Linked DNA regions of Homo sapiens: region 2 is linked to region 1. The links are contacts of gene promoters, found by promoter capture Hi-C in blood cells and fetal thymus (Javierre and others, 2016). All regions are on one chromosome and are shown on one strand. Each heading gives the region's core, a stretch centred on a gene start or on the middle of the fragment in contact. The rest is flanking DNA. Distances are from core to core; before and after follow the strand shown.

Region 1 (3,737 bases), core at 313-2,812:
TAGTTTAAAACCAAATTTGCAGCCCTTGTTAAGTGAATGCACAGGACTTTATTGTATTCAGGTCTTTTATTGTAAGACTCACTCCTGTCTTCATTTTATGTTCCACTGTTGTGCTTCCCATTTGCCTTTCTCTAGTTTTGTTTTCTGTGTTTCTACGGACTGCTCTCAGCCCAGGTGTGCAGGAAGCACACACATGCCTGCAGAGCCTTCATGGCCTCTGCATTCAGGGCATGACTTCAACGCACAGTGGCTGTACTGATTTGTTAAAACAAAGGAACAGATTACTTCTCCTAATTCACAGGGAAGTTCCAGGTTGTGCGGGCAGTGAGCAGACCTGTGTCTGTCTGCGCTTGCCCTGGTGAAAAACCCCACCGTTCAGGCTGCAGGGTGCGAGACCCAGGCACAAACATTTTGCTGGATGAGGAGGAAAGATGTAAGGTTGCTCCCCTTCAGAGACAGCAAAGGGCAGGTCTGTAGCTTCACTTACTTCAGGATTGTGATTTTTGACAGAGCCGAGAGATCAGGGTTGTTGAACCAGGCCTGAAGGTCCTAGTGAATCTCGTGAAGAGAGGAGGGGTCTGGCTGTAACATGGACCTAGAGGACATTTTTACTGCAGGAGAAGGAACAGTGGGGATGGGGTGGACTTGCCAAAGGAATATAGCTCAAGTTCCTGCAGCCCAAAAAAGCTCAGTTTCTTTTGGCCAAAGCTTCCGCGAGTTTCCCTGGCATTTCTCCTGCGGGAGCTACAGGGGCAGTGGGACACTTAGCCTCTCTAAAAGCACCTCCACGGCTGTTTGTGTCAAGCCTTTATTCCAAGAGCTTCACTTTTGCGAAGTAATGTGCTTCACACATTGGCTTCAAAGTACCCATGGCTGGTTGCAATAAACATTAAGGAGGCCTGTCTCTGCACCCGGAGTTGGGTGCCCTCATTTCAGATGATTTCGAGGGTGCTTGACAAGATCTGAAGGACCCTCGGACTTTAGAGCACCACCTCGGACGCCTGGCACCCCTGCCGCGCGGGCACGGCGACCTCCTCAGCTGCCAGGCCAGCCTCTGATCCCCGAGAGGGTCCCGTAGTGCTGCAGGGGAGGTGGGGACCCGAATAAAGGAGCAGTTTCCCCGTCGGTGCCATTATCCGACGCTGGCTCTAAGGCTCGGCCAGTCTGTCTAAAGCTGGTACAAGTTTGCTTTGTAAAACAAAAGAAGGGAAAGGGGGAAGGGGACCCTGGCACAGATTTGGCTCGACCTGGACATAGGCTGGGCCTGCAAGTCCGCGGGGACCGGGTCCAGAGGGGCAGTGCTGGGAACGCCCCTCTCGGAAATTAACTCCTCAGGGCACCCGCTCCCCTCCCATGCGCCGCCCCACTCCCGCCGGAGACTAGGTCCCGCGGGGGCCACCGCTGTCCACCGCCTCCGGCGGCCGCTGGCCTTGGGTCCCCGCTGCTGGTTCTCCTCCCTCCTCCTCGCATTCTCCTCCTCCTCTGCTCCTCCCGATCCCTCCTCCGCCGCCTGGTCCCTCCTCCTCCCGCCCTGCCTCCCCGCGCCTCGGCCCGCGCGAGCTAGACGTCCGGGCAGCCCCCGGCGCAGCGCGGCCGCAGCAGCCTCCGCCCCCCGCACGGTGTGAGCGCCCGACGCGGCCGAGGCGGCCGGAGTCCCGAGCTAGCCCCGGCGGCCGCCGCCGCCCAGACCGGACGACAGGCCACCTCGTCGGCGTCCGCCCGAGTCCCCGCCTCGCCGCCAACGCCACAACCACCGCGCACGGCCCCCTGACTCCGTCCAGTATTGATCGGGAGAGCCGGAGCGAGCTCTTCGGGGAGCAGCGATGCGACCCTCCGGGACGGCCGGGGCAGCGCTCCTGGCGCTGCTGGCTGCGCTCTGCCCGGCGAGTCGGGCTCTGGAGGAAAAGAAAGGTAAGGGCGTGTCTCGCCGGCTCCCGCGCCGCCCCCGGATCGCGCCCCGGACCCCGCAGCCCGCCCAACCGCGCACCGGCGCACCGGCTCGGCGCCCGCGCCCCCGCCCGTCCTTTCCTGTTTCCTTGAGATCAGCTGCGCCGCCGACCGGGACCGCGGGAGGAACGGGACGTTTCGTTCTTCGGCCGGGAGAGTCTGGGGCGGGCGGAGGAGGAGACGCGTGGGACACCGGGCTGCAGGCCAGGCGGGGAACGGCCGCCGGGACCTCCGGCGCCCCGAACCGCTCCCAACTTTCTTCCCTCACTTTCCCCGCCCAGCTGCGCAGGATCGGCGTCAGTGGGCGAAAGCCGGGTGCTGGTGGGCGCCTGGGGCCGGGGTCCCGCACGTGCGCCCCGCGCTGTCTTCCCAGGGCGCGACGGGGTCCTGGCGCGCACCCGAGGGGCGGGCGCTGCCCACCCGCCGAGACTGCACTGTTTAGGGAAGCTGAGGAAGGAACCCAAAAATACAGCCTCCCCTCGGACCCCGCGGGACAGGCGGCTTTCTGAGAGGACCTCCCCGCCTCCGCCCTCCGCGCAGGTCTCAAACTGAAGCCGGCGCCCGCCAGCCTGGCCCCGGCCCCTCTCCAGGTCCCCGCGATCCTCGTTCCCCAGTGTGGAGTCGCAGCCTCGACCTGGGAGCTGGGAGAACTCGTCTACCACCACCTGCGGCTCCCGGGGAGGGGTGGTGCTGGCGGCGGTTAGTTTCCTCGTTGGCAAAAGGCAGGTGGGGTCCGACCCGCCCCTTGGGCGCAGACCCCGGCCGCTCGCCTCGCCCGGTGCGCCCTCGTCTTGCCTATCCAAGAGTGCCCCCCACCTCCCGGGGACCCCAGCTCCCTCCTGGGCGCCCGCGCCGAAAGCCCCAGGCTCTCCTTCGATGGCCGCCTCGCGGAGACGTCCGGGTCTGCTCCACCTGCAGCCCTTCGGTCGCGCCTGGGCTTCGCGGTGGAGCGGGACGCGGCTGTCCGGCCACTGCAGGGGGGGATCGCGGGACTCTTGAGCGGAAGCCCCGGAAGCAGAGCTCATCCTGGCCAACACCATGGTGTTTCAAAATGGGGCTCACAGCAAACTTCTCCTCAAAACCCGGAGACTTTCTTTCTTGGATGTCTCTTTTTGCTGTTTGAAGAATTTGAGCCAACCAAAATATTAAACCTGTCTTACACACACACACACACACACACACACACACACACCGGATTGCTGTCCCTGGTTCAAGTGTGCCAAGTGTGCAGACAGAACATGAGCGAGTCTGGCTTCGTGACTACCGACCATAAACCCACTTGACAGGGGAAACATGCCTTGGAAGGTTTAATTGCACAATTCCAACCTTGAGCTGCGCGGGTTCCAAGAGCCAGGCCCGTACTTGCTGTTGATGTCATTGGCTTGGGGAGTTGGGGTTTGGTGCCCAGCGCGGTCGTTGGGGGAGGGGCAAGGCATAGAACAGTGGTTCCCAGACCTTGCTGCACATTGGAATTACCTGGGATTAAAAAAAAAAAAATCAAAACAAAAACCAGTGTCTGGCTCCCGCCCCCAGACATTCTGATTTAATTGGCATGGGGCAAGACCTGGACTTGGGATTTTTTTTAATGCTCTTCATGTGATCTGTTGGGCAGCCAGATTTGGGGATCACTAGACGGAAGAAGGATTGTTAAAGTCTCCGGAGATGTTACTTGCCAATGCTAAGAGCTCTTTGAGGACATCTGGAATTGTTACAATATTGCCAAATATAGGAAAGAGGGAAAAGGTAGAGTGTGATTCCAATAATAAAGGATTCCGCTTTTCATTGAAGGA
Region 2 (3,737 bases), core at 383-2,882, 120 kb after region 1:
ATACATGAGTTTGCAGCTGTGCTGGGCATGCCGCAGCTTGGCATGTTTAGTCCAGAAGGCATATTATAATGTACATGGAAGATTGTCAGAAATTCAAAAGGACTTTTTGAGTATCACATGTGTATTTTCAAGTTCCAATATAGATTCACATTCAGTTTGACAGGTATCTTTGGATGCCTATCAGTTAAGAACTATTTATTAGTTGTGGAATAAAATAGGGTAAAATAAGGAACAACTGAGGAAAAAACATAAAATTTGCTTTGTGAATAAAAGTTGTCTTCAAAATTATGACTTTTTCCATCCCACAAAAGTTTTGATTAAACCCACAATGAAAATTTAAATAAGTGTATTTACTTTGGTTTAACCACTTATTTCATTATGACTCACAACTATAGGTTTTCTAGTTTCCATTATTACAAACTATTGTGTGGTTTAAATCAATTTCATAGACTAGTCTAGTTCTATAGTCACAATTTATAAAATTTTTTTATGTGGTAAATTGAGTGTCTTCATAGATGTACATGATTATTTCTCAATTTTTAAGGAATGTATTTTTTAAGATAGCCTTCTTTAGCCTTCTTTAACACTGATTTTTGTAAATTTTTTACAGATTTTTTTAAATTTTTGGTAATTTTTTAGCATAAAGTAATACATGGTCACTATGGAAAACATAAAAACACAAAAACTATGAAGAGTAAATAAGAAAAACACCCAGAAATTTACCATTCAGAAAAGGTCATTGTTAACAACACGGTGTATCTTCCTCCTGTCATGCTTCCGTGCATTTGAGCACATTTGAGATGTGTATACATGTTCACTTTGAGATTTTAGTATAGCAAAAGAAATGACCGGTCCTGATTCAATGAAACCTCTGGCAAACTCGCTATATTTTCCTTACATATTTTTAAGTTCATCCTATAAATGAACTATCCATTCATCTTATTTGAGATTTTCTTAAATCTTTCAGCAAGAAAGCGGGAAAAAAATCCTCCTCTGGCCTTTAAAGCCTAATTAAATATATGACTAAGCTAGAAATATTTTATAATGACCAACCAGAAAGTGGCAAGGACTGTCACTCTTCCCATACAGCCCACCTCCTCCTCTATCTCCCTCAGGCACACGGAAACGAGAAAGGCAGAGAAACCCAGGACAAGTCATCCAAGACTTTGGTCACATGGCCATCCATTGCTTTCACAACAAAAATATAAATCCAACATGTGTGTGTGCATTTCATACCAGTAGGTCCAATAAGCTATCTATATATACACATATGTGTACACACACACACACACATCCTTACAGACACTCCCCAGCTTACTACAGTTTGACTTAAGATTTTTTGACTTTACGATGGTGTGAAAGCAATGCACATTCAATGGAAACCATACTTCTAATGTTGAATTTTTTATCTTTTCTTGGGTTAGTTGATGTCTGATATGTTACTTTCTTGCGATGCCAGGCAATGGCTGGGAGCCAGAGCTCCCAGTCAGCCATGCAATCAAGAGGCTAAACAGCTGATACTATACAGTGGACTGTGTCACCAGCATTTTGGGGATATTGTGTTTTGTGTTTTTGAATCCTATCATGTCTACAAAATGCCATTTTCGACTGCTATTTTCAATTTAGGGTGGGTTTATCAGGACATAACCCTATGGAAAGTTGAGGACCATCTGTATATCTGGTAGGGAAAGATGGATAACAAATTCATAGGCAAATAATAATTTCATGATTATTATTAAGTTATTCCTACTTAATAATAAGTAGTGATCACTGCCAGGGAGCAGAGAATGCAGGATAATGTGACAGATGTAATGGTGGGTACTTAAGCTAATGTAGTTGCAGAACAGGCTTTTCTAGAGGGTAGGCCTTTAAGCGTACCTCGAAGATGCAAAGGAAGCAAAGATGCGAAGATCTGGGCTGGGGATGGAAGCAGAGACAACTTGGAGGCCAAGGGGAGAGACTGACAACAGCCCAGCTCATACCTCAGCAGCCTTTAATGCATAGCTAAGAAAACAACAAATTAAAACAATTATAGTTTACTTAGACGATTCTAAGTGTCTAAGTGGATTTGGGCAAATCTGGAGAAACTTGTTCTAATACTGTGTCTTAATAAGTAATATAGATTTGCCCAGGCTTGTGGGCAGAGTGGTATACACCCCATAATAGCAGAGGAAGGCCACAGGGCCTACCCTACAAAACCAGAGGCATTTAAAAACTTAAAGGAGGCAGATTGCTTTTATTTTCAGTTAAAATAAAGTGAGGAGTTTCTCAAGAAAAATAATAACGAGACCACCGGCCCGCCCTAGATGTCCAACAAGAATGCACAGATAACTTCGTATATCCACTTTCCTGAACCTGCCCCTGACAGCCAAGTGGAGCACAACAACAGAGATGAACCTCAAAACTACTGTGCTGTGACATAAGGCTTGCTCAAGAGGACAGTGTGGTGTGAGTCCATCTATGTTCTAAAGCAAGCAAAGCTATTCTGTAGTGAAAATGGATCAGGACAGCAGTTGCCTCTGGTGTATGGGGGCAGGGATCGACTGGGAGGGGCATGAGGGATGACAGTTAGGGTTTCGATCATGACAGGAATTCAGATTACTCCAGCATGTGCATTTGTTAAAGCTCATCAAATGCTACACTTAAGATTAATCCTCTCACAGTTTGTGGATGTTACCTTAAAAACAACAATGATGACTGCAAACTAATATTGAACTCTGGTTAGTGATATACCAATGTGAAGTATAGTGATATCTCTACTTTACTTTAAAATGCATCCAAAGGCAGACTAGAGGACCATATCTGACAGACAGAAAAATAGATATGTGATAAGGTGAATGTAGTAAAATGCTAACATAAGGATGTTTGCGGTACAATTCTTTCAGCTTTTCTATACATTTATAAATCATAATAAAATTTTAGGACAAAAAGTTAGTGCTTTGAAGTCCTAAGTCATAGGGCCTGCTGCTCTTGATGCAGTAGAATTTGTCTTCAGATTTGCAAAGGGTAAGGCAAACCACTAGCATTTTGTATGGAACTTGATGCAAATACTTTTAATTGTCTGGTTTTCAAATGTATAGACTTAAAGTAATATCAACTCTTTCTTTGAATCAACTACTGAAATACCTAGTCTTAAATAAATATTTTTATGTAATCCTTAAAGTACTATGTATTCATTTTTCTTTCTTCTTTCTTTTCTGGTTTGATAAATATTCTATAAAGTAACTGTGTTTAATGGCCAACATTTGAGTAAGTCCATATGCAGATCCAAACATCTCAGTTTAGACAATAACTTAAGACAATATAGAGTGGCTGACATCCCCTAACGTGGGTCCAGATGCATGTTATGTTATGTTTCTGTTGCATTCTCAATAGTTAACTTTAATAAAAGAAAGTCAAAAGCTTATATATTTTTTCAATCTTCAAAACATTTCTGGGAGGTTGTCTTAGTTAATTTTATGTTGCTATACCCATATCACAGACTGGGTAATTTATAAAGAAAATAAATGTATTTGGCTCATGGTTCTGGTGGCTGGGAAGTCCAAGAGCATGGCATTGGCATCTGCTTGGCAGCTGGTGAGGGCCTTCATGCTGTGTCAATCTATGGTGGAAGGTCAAGAGAGCATGCATGTGAGGTGGTGGGGAAGAGAAAAAGCGGGTTTAACTCATCCTTTTATCAGGGACTCACTCCCGTGATAGCTAACCCATTCTTACATGAATGGCATTAATCCATTCCT

Evidence for each region. The method cuts DNA at HindIII sites, captures the fragments that hold promoters and counts their contacts. A CHiCAGO score of 5 or more calls a contact.
Region 2: a contact is called between a fragment that was not itself captured here and the fragment with the promoter of EGFR in region 1, in 1 of 17 cell types (endothelial precursors). The highest score is 6.1, in endothelial precursors.

The regions. Positions count from the first base shown.
Region 1 is chr7:55,017,455-55,021,191 of GRCh38, forward strand. EGFR (epidermal growth factor receptor) reads left to right here and starts at 1,563. Exons shown (of 28, transcript NM_005228.5): 1 at 1,563-1,911. The coding sequence starts at 1,824. LOC105375284 (a long non-coding RNA gene) reads right to left here and starts at 1,468. Exons shown (of 4, transcript XR_007060329.1): 1 at 1-1,468. RefSeq lists an enhancer at 2,563-3,237. The HindIII fragment of the contact is 3,906 bases long and covers 707-3,737 here.
Region 2 is chr7:55,135,295-55,139,031 of GRCh38, forward strand. The region is part of intron 1 of EGFR (epidermal growth factor receptor); the gene reads left to right. Among named protein-coding and RNA genes, the nearest start is that of EGFR-AS1, 52 kb to the right of the region's middle. The HindIII fragment of the contact is 3,536 bases long and covers 1-3,400 here.